5 separate regions of the Homo sapiens genome follow, and all the other regions are linked to region 3. Evidence: promoter capture Hi-C in human tissues and cell types (Jung and others, 2019). All regions are on one chromosome and are shown on one strand. Each heading gives the region's core, a stretch centred on a gene start or on the middle of the fragment in contact. The rest is flanking DNA. Distances are from core to core; before and after follow the strand shown.

What was found. The method cuts DNA at HindIII sites, captures the fragments that hold promoters and counts their contacts. A contact is called where the count stands out against the background at its distance.
Region 1: a contact is called between a fragment that was not itself captured here and the fragment with the promoter of SLFNL1 in region 3, in 3 of the 25 tissues and cell types used here (H1 embryonic stem cells, liver and thymus).
Region 2: a fragment that was not itself captured here is called in contact with the fragment with the promoter of SLFNL1 in region 3 in 2 of the 25 tissues and cell types used here (IMR-90 fibroblasts and thymus).
Region 4: a fragment that was not itself captured here is called in contact with the fragment with the promoter of SLFNL1 in region 3 in 1 of the 25 tissues and cell types used here (aorta).
Region 5: a fragment that was not itself captured here is called in contact with the fragment with the promoter of SLFNL1 in region 3 in 1 of the 25 tissues and cell types used here (thymus).

The regions. Positions count from the first base shown.
Region 1 is chr1:40,848,924-40,851,646 of GRCh38, reverse strand. The region is part of intron 1 of LOC105378676 (a long non-coding RNA gene); the gene reads left to right. Among named protein-coding and RNA genes, the nearest start is that of CITED4, 12 kb to the left of the region's middle. The HindIII fragment of the contact is 9,569 bases long and covers 1-2,723 here.
Region 2 is chr1:40,777,742-40,780,441 of GRCh38, reverse strand. No RefSeq gene overlaps it. Among named protein-coding and RNA genes, the nearest start is that of KCNQ4, 4.7 kb to the left of the region's middle. The HindIII fragment of the contact is 3,683 bases long and covers 1-2,700 here.
Region 3 is chr1:41,020,272-41,023,057 of GRCh38, reverse strand. It overlaps SLFNL1 (schlafen like 1), which reads left to right and starts at 1,333. Exons shown (of 6, transcript NM_144990.4): 1 at 1,333-1,435; 2 at 2,188-2,194; 3 at 2,280-2,786. The coding sequence starts at 2,398. The region is part of intron 1 of SLFNL1-AS1 (SLFNL1 antisense RNA 1); the gene reads right to left. The HindIII fragment of the contact is 20,466 bases long and covers 1-2,786 here.
Region 4 is chr1:41,203,640-41,206,339 of GRCh38, reverse strand. The region is part of intron 1 of SCMH1 (Scm polycomb group protein homolog 1); the gene reads left to right. Among named protein-coding and RNA genes, the nearest start is that of SCMH1, 37 kb to the left of the region's middle. The HindIII fragment of the contact is 3,341 bases long and covers 1-2,700 here.
Region 5 is chr1:41,221,639-41,224,374 of GRCh38, reverse strand. The region is part of intron 1 of SCMH1 (Scm polycomb group protein homolog 1); the gene reads left to right. Among named protein-coding and RNA genes, the nearest start is that of SCMH1, 19 kb to the left of the region's middle. The HindIII fragment of the contact is 7,059 bases long and covers 1-2,736 here.

The DNA.
Region 1 (2,723 bases), core at 67-2,566, 170 kb after region 3:
GGTGGTTAGTGTGTAGGGTGCATGGTCAGCGGGGGAAGGGTTGTGCTCGGAGTAGGCAAGGGTCAAAGAGGGGTGACCCTTAGTGGCAGGCTGAGGAGCTTGAACTTGATTCTGTTAGTAATGGGGAGTCACAGACGACATGAGCCGAGTGGAAACAGTTGGGTTTGTGTTTTGGAAAGGTCACTCTGGCTGTGGTGAGTAGAATGGATTTGAGAGGGGCAGGTGGGAGAAATGGAGAGCGCTGAGAAAGCATGAAATGCAATGTCTAGCATACATGAATATTCTTTTGAAGAATGAATGACTCTATCTCGATTACTTAGGATTATGCACGTGGCTTTGAGTGACAGAAAAACAGTAGCTTAAATAAAAAGAACCAGGTAGGTAGTCCAGAATGGGTGTAGTTATCCATAGTGTCAGCATCTAGGCCCCACCACCTTGTTGCTTTGTCATTTGTGGGTTAGACCTCATGATCCAAAAAGGCTGCTCGAGCTACCATATCAACATTCCAGCCAGAAAAAAAGAGAAAAGAGGAGTCGTGAACTTTCTGGAAGTTTTCTGCCCCTAACTACAAAAGAGGCTCAGAAATGTAGTCTTTATTCTGGGTGGCCATATGTGTAAGCAGAATTCAGAGGTTCTGCTACTGGGAAGAAGATGGGAATGGATCCTGCAGTCACGATAATGACCCACTGATGTGGAGGCTACAGGAAAGGAGTGGAAAATGATTCCCAGGGGTGTGGCTTGGGGCACAGAGTGACTCTTCCATGAGGTGAATCCTAGCAGGAAGAGCAGGCTGTAGGGAGCAGGATAGATTAGGATGGACACATCAGGCCATCCAAGGTGGACATCTAGGAGGAAGAGGGCCAGATAAATGGGTCTGGAGCTCAGGAATTAGGTCTGGACTGACAGTAACTTTGTTTGGGGGGGTATTAGCACATCCATTGTTGCCTTGGGAATGATGATGCCCAGTGATAAAAGAATGTGGCCAAGGACAGAACCTTGGATAGAGGCCGAGAATTAGCAGCTGGGGAAGTGGGAGAGAAACAGCAGAAAGGTGTCCTGAAAGCCCAGGGAGATGTTTCCCAAAGGAGGGCGTGGTCAGGGGTTCCTAATGCTGCTGAAAAGTCAGGTAAAGTGAGGACTAAAAAGAGGCTGTTCAATTGGGCAATCAGAAAGTCAAAATGACTTTGCCAGAGCAATTCCAGGGGAGTGGAGAGGCAGGAGACAGGATGCCATGGTCAGTGGGAAATGGGAAAAGAGGAAGTCAGGTCAACAAAGGTAGATGAATTGTTTAAAGGATCTTTTTGGACCTCAGTGTTTCCATGGGTCAAGTGACCCATGTCTGGGGCTTCTTTGCTGCGCTTTTTAGTGGACTTAAAAGCATTGAAAAGGCCTCTACAGTTGGGTTCGGCCTGGACGGCGCCTGCTTGAGATGGGATGCAACACCCATCTTTTCTCGGCAGGTGGCAGCACCACACCAAGTGACACCACCTGGACACCTCGACCAACACGAAATCCACATTGCACATCAGTGCATTTTCAGAGAAATGAAGCTTAGATCCCCAAACACCAAAGCGTTGGGTGGTGGTTGTTGCTGTTGTTGTCATTTTGGATGGAAGCCTTGAGTAGAGAAAACTGAATGGAACTTTCTGTTCAAGTCCTGGCTCTGTCACTTACTGGCTGTGCAACCTTCAGCAAGCCCTCTCACACATGCAAGCCTGCTTCCTGGTTGGCAAATCGGGCATGAGAACAAACCCAAAACCACCTCATGGTGTCACAGTGAGTCTGTAACAAAGTGCGCTTGTGTCGGATGTTCCTGTGGACAGACTCAGGGCTGGGGTGGGCAAGCGGGGATGGGCTCAGAAGCAGAGGGAAGGGACCAGACCCGCACAGCCATGGGGAGGGGGTGCCTGTGGTCTTTACAAAGGCTGCACACAACAGTACTGCTGGAGTCAGGAAAGTTGGGTTCGGATTTTGCAGGTGAGGGAACCAAGGCTCCCATATGACTCTCCACAGTCATACCCCTCAAACAGGCAAAGCAGAGGCACCAAAACCAAACTTCAGAAGAAGAATTTGATGCATAATATTTTTGAAAAAAAAAAAAAGGCTCAGAATTGCAGCATGGGAAAAATCTGAACTTCGTGGAACTTCTTTCCCATTGTTGTGTGGTTTCGTATTGTTTGCTGCCCTTCACTCCCCTGGTCCCTGTTTAATGCCCACGTTCTGAGAGCACCCCTGTATCTGCTCCTTCCCCCTAAGATGACATGGGGGAGGTTAAGGATGTGAGGGGAGGAGAGGAGGAAGCCATCCAGCCATCTGGAGGTCGAGAGACTCGGGCTCAGCTCTGGGCTCTGCCTTGGCTTACTAGGCCTCAGTTTTCCCAGCTGCAAAATGAGGCTATGGGACCAGTGGTCCCTTGGGAGCCTTGGCAGCTCTGACTTTTTATGAAGGCTTTGGATTCCCCTTGAGCTTCCCTGACCATCTCTCTGAAAGACGCCCCCTGCAACACAGTCACTATTCCATTTCCATTTTATTTTCTTCACGGCACTTATCACCCCATGAAATTATCGTGTTTTTTTTGTTTGTTTTCTGTCTAGACAGTAATCTACTATCTACTCTATGTGAGCAGGGACTTTGTGAGTGAGCTGCTAGGACCTTGGCACCTAAAATAGTGCTTGGCATGTACTAGAAATGAACAAACAATTGTAGAATAAGTGAATGAAGGG
Region 2 (2,700 bases), core at 99-2,598, 240 kb after region 3:
CCACAGGCAATGGCAGAGGGAGCTTTCTTGGGGACAGGAGTGGGGAGGACTGGGAGAGACGCAGAGAAGTACAACCAATAATGCCTGCAGCTACCATTAATGAGGCCTGCAGTCAATCCTAAGCCTTATGCAGGATGTTTTACCTGCATTGTCTATTTCAGCATCCCCACAACCTTGTGCGGTAATACTGTTCACGGTCCCATGTTACACTCAAGAAGACTGAGGCTCAGTGAAGAGACTTGCCTTGTATGGCTGTTAATTCACTCAGGTGCTGCTTTAATGTGTGTGTGTGTGTGTGTGTGTGTGTGTGTGTGTGTGTGTGTACTGGTGTGGGAAGAATGTTACAGAGCATTCGGAAGAGCAAGCTTAGCCAGGGGCACGCAGGAGGACTTGAATGCCAGGATGGAGGGTCCAATTTGGCCTGATAAGAAACAGGGAGCCTGGCCAGGCCCTGAGGCTGGGCATGCTGCAGAGGCTGTGGCTCCCTAGGAGAGAACCCAGGATGGGTGAAGTGGGAGGCACCAGCATCCAGAGAGGCTGGCAGTGCCAGGGGCAGAAAGAGCCCTAAACTACAAGTCATGGCTGGGCTTCCAGTCCTAGCTCCACCTGTGGAATACCTGGGGACCTTGGGCAAGTCACTCCACCTCTTCCCCACTTTCCCTGGCTATCAGCACTGAATGCAATAATGCATGAAAAAGTTAGAGACCATGCAGGGGGCTGTACGCACGTGACCCATTCGTCTGACTGCTCTTCAGGTACGTGTTTCAGGTGGAGCAGGGAGATGCTCTGGGAATTCCCTGGTCCTAGCAGTTCTTCTCAATCTAGGAAGCCTTCCTAGGAGGGGATTGGAGTGGAGAGTGCTCAGGGGGTGATGGCATCACATTATTGACCTTTGGGAACCCACCTCTACTGAGAGCAGGAGGAAGCATGAGAGAAAGATAAGGCCTTCTTCCTTTTCCCTGTGCAGCCCAGAAAGGACAAGAGACTTAGGCCACGAGGTGCTGGAGGGGCCCAAGGAATTTCTTTTTCTTTTCCTTTTTTTTTTTTTTTTGAGATGGAGTCTCGCTCTGTTGCCCAGTCTGGAGTGCAGTGGCGCAATCTCGGCTCACTGCAAGCTCTGCCTCCCGGGTTCACACCATTCTCCTGCCTCAGCCTCCCAAGTAGCTGGCACTACAGGCGCCCGCCACCATGCCTGGCTAATTTTTTTGTATTTTTAGTAGAGACGGGGTTTCACCGTGTTAGCCAGGATGGTCTCGATCTCCTGACCTCCTGATCCGCCCGTCTTGGCCTCCCAAAGTGCTGGGATTACAGGCGTGAGCCACCTCGCCAGCCAAGGAATTTCTTTTCCCCAGATCTGGGTGTGGCACTGACCAGCCCCCAGCCTAGACCAAGCAGGCCAGTCAGCTCAGAGCCACAGGAAGTGGGGAGGGAGCAGTGTTGCTGAGCTCAGTGAAAGTGAACCCCCATTGATCCTCAGGGCTGGAGGGGGCCCACACAGAGGAGACACAGAGGGAGAAAGGGGCGTGGAAATGAAGGTCAAAGCCCTCCCTTCTTGCAGGGCTCCTCCTCTGCCTTCAGGATTCTTCCTGTAAGATCCTTCCTCTAACCTCTACCTCTGGAAGACCATGCAGAAGGCAACAGTGCTGTGGTCCTGCTGGTTAACTCCATGTTCTCGGTGAGAACCACTGGGACAATAGAGTTGGCTGAAAAATGAAAAGGAAGGACTTTTCTGAGTTGCTGAGTGTGCAGTGGAAAAGAACTTCCATGCTCGCCTGGTGGGAGAAACTTGAATGAGGGCTCAGGGAGGGAGATGACGTGAGTAGGAGGGACAGAAGGTTGAGTAGCAGGAAATGGGGTTCAGAAAGAGGATGACAACCTGGTAAGGGAGATGGGATTCAGGGAGGAGAATGGGGGCTCCAAAGAGAGGCTAGAGACTGGGTGACAGGGATGGAAGGCTCAGAGACCAGGATTTCCAGGTCAAGCTTGATTAAACGCTTATTAAATTCCTCCTCTTTGAAATATTAGATGTGCAAAGCAAGATAAGTGCTAAATAATTTTTTAAATTAAAAAAAAATTTTTTTTTTGAGACCAGTTCTTGCTCTGTCACCCAGGCTGGAATGCAGTGGTGTGATCTTGGCTTACCGCAACCTCTGCCTCCTGGGTTCAAGCAATTCTCTGCCTCAGCCTCTCGAGTAGCTGAGAATACAGGTGTGTACCACCATGCCTGGCTAATATTTTTATTTTTTGTAGAGATGGGGTTTCACCATGTTGGCCAGGCTGGTCTCGAACTCCTGGCCTCAAAGTGATCTACCAGCCTTGGCTTCCCAAAGTGCTGGGATTACAGGCATGAGCCACCATGCCCAGCTGATAATTAAAAGAAAAAAAAAGTACATATTCAAGCACCAAAAGCAAGAATGGGGAATTGTGTAAGACCATAAGAGGTAATTCCTGGTGGCAAGCAGGAATTGAAGGTGTATTTCTGAGGGGGGGTCCAGTGTCCAGTGGGGTGGGAGGGTGGGAAGTATAGTTGCCAACCTCAAAAATGCCAGGGACAACAGTAGGCTTTCTGCTTAAAGCTGAGTCTGGTAAAGTGCTGCCTGCCGTGAACATTAAAATCTCTGTCTGCTAGCCACCTGGTCCCTGGCTTTAAGCAGAAAGAGGATCCTTATAAGTGTGACACCTCAGTCTGTCCACAGGGGG
Region 3 (2,786 bases), core at 84-2,583:
GAAGTAGAACTGATTCAGCTCACAGAAGGCTGTTAAAGGCGCCAGAGAAATATGTGATGCAGTGGCTTAAAGAGACTGCCAGGAAGAGTGGGGAAAGTTGCTGCACTCAAGTCAATTTGGGAAATTTCATGCAGAACAGCCACCCAATAGCAAGGCCTCTAGGTAAGTAGGGAGAACGCCTCTGGTCATGTTCAGGTGTTTCGTCTGTCAAGGTGCTTCTCCCGGACAGCTATTTCTGCACAGTTCAACACGACTTGAGTTGGCCATCTCAAAACAGCTATAGCCTCAGTTGCTGTGAGGGCACCTCATGGATGACAGAGGCAAGAAAGGCTTGAGGGAGAGGGGGTGAGGCAGGGGGAGCTTGGAGCCGTCATTCTCTAACCCTAAGAGCTGTGGACACAAAGCCGAGCCCAACCTGGCTGCTGCCCGGGCGGGCAAGGAGAGGGCACCGAATGCACTCTCCCCAGAGCCTCGCACTGCCACCAGTTGAGGCCTGCGCCCCTCTCTTCCCCGCACACCATAGCCTCTTTTCTTGAGTGCTCTACCCAAACTACTGCCTCACCCCCTAGGAAACAAACATTTGGTAACATCTTCAGAAAGGCTGCTTTCAAGGAAGGCAGCTTCTCTACGCTGTCAAACAGCTTTCTTAGTTGAAGCATCTAACTGTGGCACCATCCTTACTGCCCCCAATTGGGGCTTCCAGAAGCAGTGTGGGCAAGCGCTGCCAGCCTTCTGCAGAATGATGAGCACTGGTCAGTCCTGTGCTGATAAAGACTGTGTGTCACCCACGTCTTGGTTTCTCCAACAGCAGGTAACAACCTCATCTTCCCAAAGAGATAGATAGCTACGCCTGACCTATTTTTCAGGGCTCTTCTGGACAGCAGCCTCTGTCTCCAGCACAGAGAAGGGCCTGGCGTCAGGGGGAGCCCTGGAGCCTACCATGTGCCTCCTGCTCCATCTTGGGAGCAGCTGGGCCCTGTCAGTACTCAGTAGAGCCTGGGATTGGTGACTGACTAAAGAGGGAGGTGGAGGCTTTAGGCAGCAGCGCTGAAAGAGGTGGCAAGAGGTGACCTGCATGGGAACTGGGGCCTGAAGAGACATCACTAAGTGGGGAAGTGTGTCCCACAGCCAAGCTGCATGGTGGGTGGGCCGCTGGGTCTGCTTCCAGTGTGTGGTGGGACCCACAGGGAGCTGAGTTTTCCTGTTTGATTTCCCGCACCCAGCCTGCCTGTGGCTGGCCAAGAAGGCATTGTTGAACCTCATGAGATCACAGAGGTAGCTGTGCAGGCCCCGCCCACTTCCTATAACCCTGGTTCTGGCCGTCCCTGTGCCAAGCCTCCAAGTTCCCTGAGAGCTACCGGCCAGGGGTCGGGAGGCTATGGGAGCTCAGGGCAGGCACCTCCCATGCTCCCGCGGGAGCCACCAGGACATGAAGGTCATAGGCCTCTCCTCTCCTCCTCTTCCTGTTTGACCTGAATGCCCCCAGGCCAACTGCCTCAAGGATTCCATTTGAGAAGATGCAGGCTGGGTGTGTGGGGAGCAGTAGAGGGGCTGGTGTGTGCACATATGTGCACAGCTCAGGACAGAGGCTCCCTGGACTTGGGGCGGGGGCACTAGGGCCCCAACTCTAACCCTCGTTCTGCCCTGTTGACCTCTGCTCTCTGGACCAAAAATGGAGGACTCAGTCTAGACTAGTTCTTAGGGTCTAGGAGCCACCTTAAGTTATGTTTATATGCAAAGGCCATTTTTCTGAGAGGCCATAGCTTTCATCAGTGTGCCAAAAAGCGTGAGATCCTCTGCTCTAAAAGCCTCTGCCCCAGCGCTGCCTAGTTTCAGAGCCCCCGATGGCCTCACATGGGGTTTTAGAGCAGGCAGAGAAGCTGCAATGGGGCCACCAGCCAGTCCTCAGAGTCCTGGGTTAAGGCCTCCTCTCCAGGAGGCCCTGTGTAAAGGTTTTCTCTGTTGCCTGGAGGCAGGAGTGAACTGGTAGGCAGGAAACCCTGAGGGTACCTAGGAGGCCCCTAGCCTGTGGGTTGGGGAGGGAAGACAGGACCCCTGGGGCCACTGAAATGGTGGAGCTCTCAGAGACCTGAGTTCTGGTCCCTTCTGCCACTTTTTGGGCAGATCCCGTCTTCCCACAGGCCCTGTGTCTTGCTCAGTCCACGTGACTCTGCTTTCTCATCCTAGGCCTCAGGTGGGTGGCAGGCCCTTTCCTGCTTGCCCTCTGCCCTCCCTCTCTCTGGCCCTGCCCAGTCTCTGCCAATCTGTGTACCTCCCAGGAGCCGGGACACTCCCTGAGTCCTCTGGGAGCCCTTAAGCCACACTGAGAACACAGACCCTGGGAGAAGCAGCCAGCAGTGAGGAATCCTGGAACCCCTTCCCAGGGAGAGCCTTCCCATGACCCCCATGAAGAGATCAGTGCAAACACAGGTGTCAGAGCCCTTCATGGAGTCCTGGGGTGAGGAGTCCCTGCCGGAGCTACCCGCAGAGCAGTCCCTGACGGAGTACTCTGACCTCGAGGAGGCTCCCTCGGCGCACACTCTCTATGTGGGCCATCTGAACCCCCAGTTCTCAGTGCCGGTGCTTGCCTGCCTGCTGCGAGACACCCTGGAGCGGCTGGAGATGCCGGTGGCGCGGGAGCACATTGAAGTGGTGAGGCGGCCGCGGAAGGCCTATGCACTGGTGCAGGTGACTGTCCACAGGGACACCCTGGCCTCCCTCCCCTGGCGCCTGCAGACGGCCCTGGAGGAGCACCTAATCCTCAAGGAGCTGGCAGCCCGTGGGAA
Region 4 (2,700 bases), core at 88-2,587, 180 kb before region 3:
TCTACACTGTTTATTCTAGTTAGCCATTCATCTAATCTTTTTTCAAGGTTTTTAGCTTCCTTGTGATGGGTTTGAGCATCCTCCTTTAGCTCAGAAAAGTTTGTTATTAACTGACCTTCTGAAGCCTTCTTCTGTCAACTTGTCAAAGTCATTCTCCATCCAGCTTTATTCTGTTGCTGGTGAGGAGCTGCGATCCTTTGGAGGAGAAGAGGCGCTCTGGTTTTTAGAATTTTCAGCTTTTCTGCTCTGGTTTCTCACCATCTTTGTGGTTTTATCTAACTTTGGTCTTTGATGTTGGTGACCTACAGATGGGATTTTGGTATGGATGTCCTTTTTGTTGATGTTGATGCTATTCCTTTCTGTTTGTTAGTTTTCCTTCTAACAGGTCCCTCAGCTGCAGGTCTGTTGGAGTTTGCTGGAGGTCCACTCCAGACCTTGTTTGCTTGGGTATCACCAGCGGAGGCTGCAGAACAGCTAATATTGCAGAACAGCAAATATTGCTGCCTGATCCTTTCTCTGGAAGCTTCGTCCTAGAGGGGCCCCTGCCTGTATGAGGTGTCAGTCGGCCCCTACTGGGAGGTACCTCCCAGTGTTGGGAGAACCACTCCTCTCTTCAAGCTATCAGACAGGGATGTTTAAATCTGCAGAAGTTGTCTGCTGCCTTTTGTTCAGCTATGCCCTGCCCACAGAGGTGAAGTCTATGGAGGCAGTAGGCCTTGTTGAGCTGTAGTGGGCTCTGCCCAGTTCGAGCTTCCTGGCCACTTTGTTTACCTACTCAAGCCTCAGCAATGGCAGATGCCCCTCCCCCCCGCGAGGATGCAGTGGGAAATCAGGGGTCTCACAGCCTTCAGAGCTGAGAGCCCCGAATTGATTGAGGTCAGTCTCAGACTGCTGCGCTAGCAGTGAGCAAGGCTCCATGGGCATGGGACCTGCCGAGCCAGGCACAGGAGAGAATCTCCTGGTCTGCCAGTTGCTAAGACCATGGGAAAAGCACAGTATTTGGGCAGAGGTGTACTGATTTTCCAGGTGCAGTCTGTCACGGCCTCCCTTGGCTAGGAAAGGGAAATCCCCCAACCCTTGTGCTTCACAGGTGAGGTGATGCCCCGTCATGCTTCGGCTTGCCCTCCGTGGGCTGTATCCACTGTCCAACCAGTCCCAATGAGATGAACCAGATACCTCAGTTGGAAATGCAGAAATCACCCGTATTCTGCATCGATCATGCTGGGAGCTGCAGACTGGAGCTGTTCCTATTCAGCCATCCTGCAGTTCAGTCATTTTTGTTTCATTTTAAGAGATTTTCCTTAACTGTTTTTCTCTCAGAAATCAATTTGTGGGTTGTAATTATAAGCCATCCAAGTATAATGTATTTTCAATTCAGTAAGTAGCCACTATTCTGGTCATATAATTTTTTAGTTTTGTGCCTTTTTTCCTTACTATTAAATTAGCATATACCCATTTCATTAATAAATACCTATTGAGTATCTCCTCTTACACCAGGCACTATTCCAGGTGCTGGGATATAATGCTGAATGAATAACATAAACACCCCAGTGAGAGAGACAAATAAATAGATATGGAAAATATTAAATGGTGCTAACTGCTATGTGGAGAATTAAGAGTGGTATGATAGAAAGGGTCTAGGTGACTACTTTAGTTTGAGTGATCAGGGAAGGATTCTCTGAGGAGGTGACATTTAAGCTAAGACCTGAATGATGAAAAGCCAGACATGTGAATATTGAGGTGGAACATTCCAGGGAGTGTAAAGGCCCCAAGGTCATAAGGAACTTGGCCTCCAACAGGAGCTGAGAAGACCAGTATAGCTGGAGCAAAGCAAAAGGTGAGAGCCATAGGAGATGAAGTAGAAGAGGTAAGTAGGGGTCAGATCATGCAGGACTATGTGGGCCAGGATAAGGTACTTGGATTTGATTTGAAGTGCTATGGGGAGGCTTTGGGAGATTTTAAGCTGGAGAGTGATATGATCTAACTTACCTTAACATATAGTCAGGACAGGATCATATAGGGAAGAAAATAGGTCAATACTGAGAACCTGTAATTCAAACACAGGAAAAAGATTGCATTTGCTGCTAAGGCGTACTAAATAGCCCAGTTTTCCTTGAAAAATCCTAAGCCTAAGAGACAAGAAATTTGGCCAAATTCCATTGTTTTGATTCCCAGCTCCACCATGTACCAACTGTGTAACCTTGGGCAAATTATAAGATATCTCTCTGCACTGGTTTCTCATCATTAAAATGAAGATAATAATAGTGCCTGCAGATAATAATAGTGCCTGCCTTATAGACTAGTGAAAATTGAACAACATTGCTGAGACCAGCTCGGTCGGGGAGACCCTAACCCAGCGGCGCTAGAGGAATTAAAGACACACAGAAATATAGAGGTGTGAAGTGGGAAATCAGGGGTCTCACAGCCTTCAGAGCTGAGAGCCCCGAACAGAGATTTACCCACGTATTTATTAACAGCAAGCCAGTCATTAGCATTGTTTCTATAGATATTCGATTAACTAAAAGTATCCCTTATGGGAAACGAAGGGATGGGCCAAAATAAAGGAATAGGTTGGGCTAGTTAACTGCAGCAGGAGCATGTCCTTAAGGCACAGATCGCTCATGCTATTGTTTGTGGCTTAAGAATGCCTTTAAGTGGTTTTCTGCCCTGGGTGGGCCAGGTGTTCCTTGCCTTCATTCC
Region 5 (2,736 bases), core at 111-2,610, 200 kb before region 3:
TTTCAACTATTCAGTATTTAGCACTCACCATGTGTTAGATACAGGGGATAAAGAAATAAACATGAAGCAGCATTACCCTTTAAGGCTCATAATCTAGTAGAGGAATCAGACACAAATAAATTATAATACAGTATAGCACAATAATATAAATGTATACACTTCATGGAAGAGATAATGATTTTGTCTGAGAGTATGAGGAAAGCTTCTATTCTATGCAAATTAGGTTTTAAAGGATGAGTAGACGTTTTTTAGGTAGACTGAGGAGGTGAAAGAGGGGGCGATCCAGATGGAAGGAGTCAGCATATGTAGTGTTTGGAACTGTATAAATCGTTTATTACTGCTGTGTATTAAGGTTAAGAAGAGCTGACTAAAGGTGAGGCTAGAGGGTAGGCAAGGGCTGGATCATCCGAGGATGATTTTTGTACCATCCTGGGGAGTTTAAATGTCATTCTGTGGGCAAGAGGAGTCAGTGAAGGGTTTTGAGCAGAAAACAAAGACTATCCCTTGAGTGTTGTAGGAAAACCACTTTGATAGCCTTGCAAATGACAGAGCAGGGAGCTTTATAGATTACCCAAATGTTTGCAGGTTATTATCTGATTCTCACAACAGGTCTTTGAAAGTTGGCAAGGCAGGAATTAATCCCATCTAATATATGATATATGAACCACTGAGAATTAAAGATGGCGCTGGAAATTAGCTTGCATCATATACAATCAGTACTTACTGAGCAACGATTAAACCTAGGCCTTTTCCAAATCTAGTTGTATTTTTACGATACATTGAAAGATACAGTCCCTGCCCTAAATGAAATTTAAAACTTGTTAGGGATGATTGAGGGATAATTTTCCTTAAAAAAAAAAAGATAAAATTACGACTCTCACACAAATATAGAATGAACAAAATTTTAACTCATTAATCCATGTGGGAAACAGAAAGATAGTACAAAGATGGCTCAGAGAGGACCCAAAGTACCACATATTTATTGTCAGGGAATGCTGAACTTAATTCACAAATGGTGACAAAACTCGTCAATACCCATAGGACAGTTATCAATTGCATTACCTGGGCACAGTTTGCATTTCAGTGGACAGGAATTATTTGCATTACTGTGAGTTTTCAACAAGCTGACATCTTTCTTGACAAAGCTGTGAAATAGCCTAATTAAAGAGAGACCAAGTAACACATCTCTATACAATCAGGTAATCCTGGAAGGCTCCAGATTCCATTGATAGAATATGCAGTAATCTCTCTTGCCCATTTCAAAACCTCCCACAATTTTATCCGACAGGGATTTAGGACTAATTCTCAGAAAATTCAGATTAGGGGATAAAGAAATAAACATGAAGCAACCTCACCCCACAAGGCTCATAATCTAGTAGAGGAATCAGACAAATAAATTATAATACAAAATAGTACAATAATATAAATGTATACACTTCATGAAAGAGATGATTTCATGTGGGCTAGGATCTTCTCCAGTTTTCCCTATTACCCTATCATCAGAAATCAGGGATTCTTCATCTCAACAGAAGTATCCTTTGAAAAATGACTGCATCATACAGTCCCATTATGCAATGTCAGTTTCCATTCTCACTTTCTGTTTAGATTACCTGCCTAGGACTCTTCTTGAGTGTTTGAATTACCCCTTTCCAGAAATGAAAATCTGCCTCCAAACCCACCAACCTAGTTGTTGGTGGACCGTAATACCCAAGTGAAAAAAGGCTTTAGGGTGCCAGGTGTCTGGATTTTCTAAGCAGTACTTCTGTAGAGTTCCTTGGCATAATGCCATCTTCCCCTTAGCACTGTGATATGTCTCGGTACAGTCTCTTTTGCTGTATTATAGAAGGTGCATTCCTAGGAAGCCTCATGTTATAAAGAGTTAGTATAGTAATTGTTTCAAGGGTTTTTTTCCTATATGAAGGTAAAGGTGCTTATATAGCTGTAAGTATATAACTATAAAATCTAAAGATTTTGAGGAAATCCAGTGTTTGATTTTGTTTAACTTTTGCAAAAGAGTATTTCTTTGCCTATCTTCACCAACATCACTTTATCACTTTTATTGTCTATTTTTATGGCAAAGCACCAAGTCACTTAAAGCAGTTGTTTCATATTTGCAGTATTTCTTTTTCTCCTTTCCTTTCTTTGTTTAATTCCTTCATGCTTTCTCTTTCTTCTTCTTCCCTTCCCTTGTTTCCTTTTCTTCTTTCCCTTCCTTCCCTTCCCTCACTTTCTGCTTGTCTTATTCCTTCTCTGTATTCCACATAAAGTATGTTAGAATTATGCAAATAATGTTTCCTAAAACCAGATATAGGTATATCTCTTTGACTTAATGCTGCCAGTTTAAGATTATTTATCTGTTCATATCATTTGTAGATGGTTCTGCTCTCTCAAGACTTATCACTGATTGCTTGATTGCTTAATGATGTCAATCTCCAGTCCTTTGTTTCCTAGCTTTTTTTTTTTTTTTTTTTTTTTTTTTTTGAGACGGAGTCTTGCTCTGTCACCCAGGCTGGAGAGTTCAGTGGTGCAGTGTTGGCTCACAGCAACCTCTGCCTCCCGGGTTTAAGCAATTCTTCTGCCTCAGCCTCCTGAATAGCTGGGACTACAGGTGCCTGCCACCACACCTGGCTAATTTTTTTTTGTATTTTTAGTAGAGATAGGGTTTCGCCATGTTGGCCAGGCTGGTCTTGAACTCCTGGCCTCAAGTGGTCCGCCCAGCTTGGCTTCCCAAAGTGC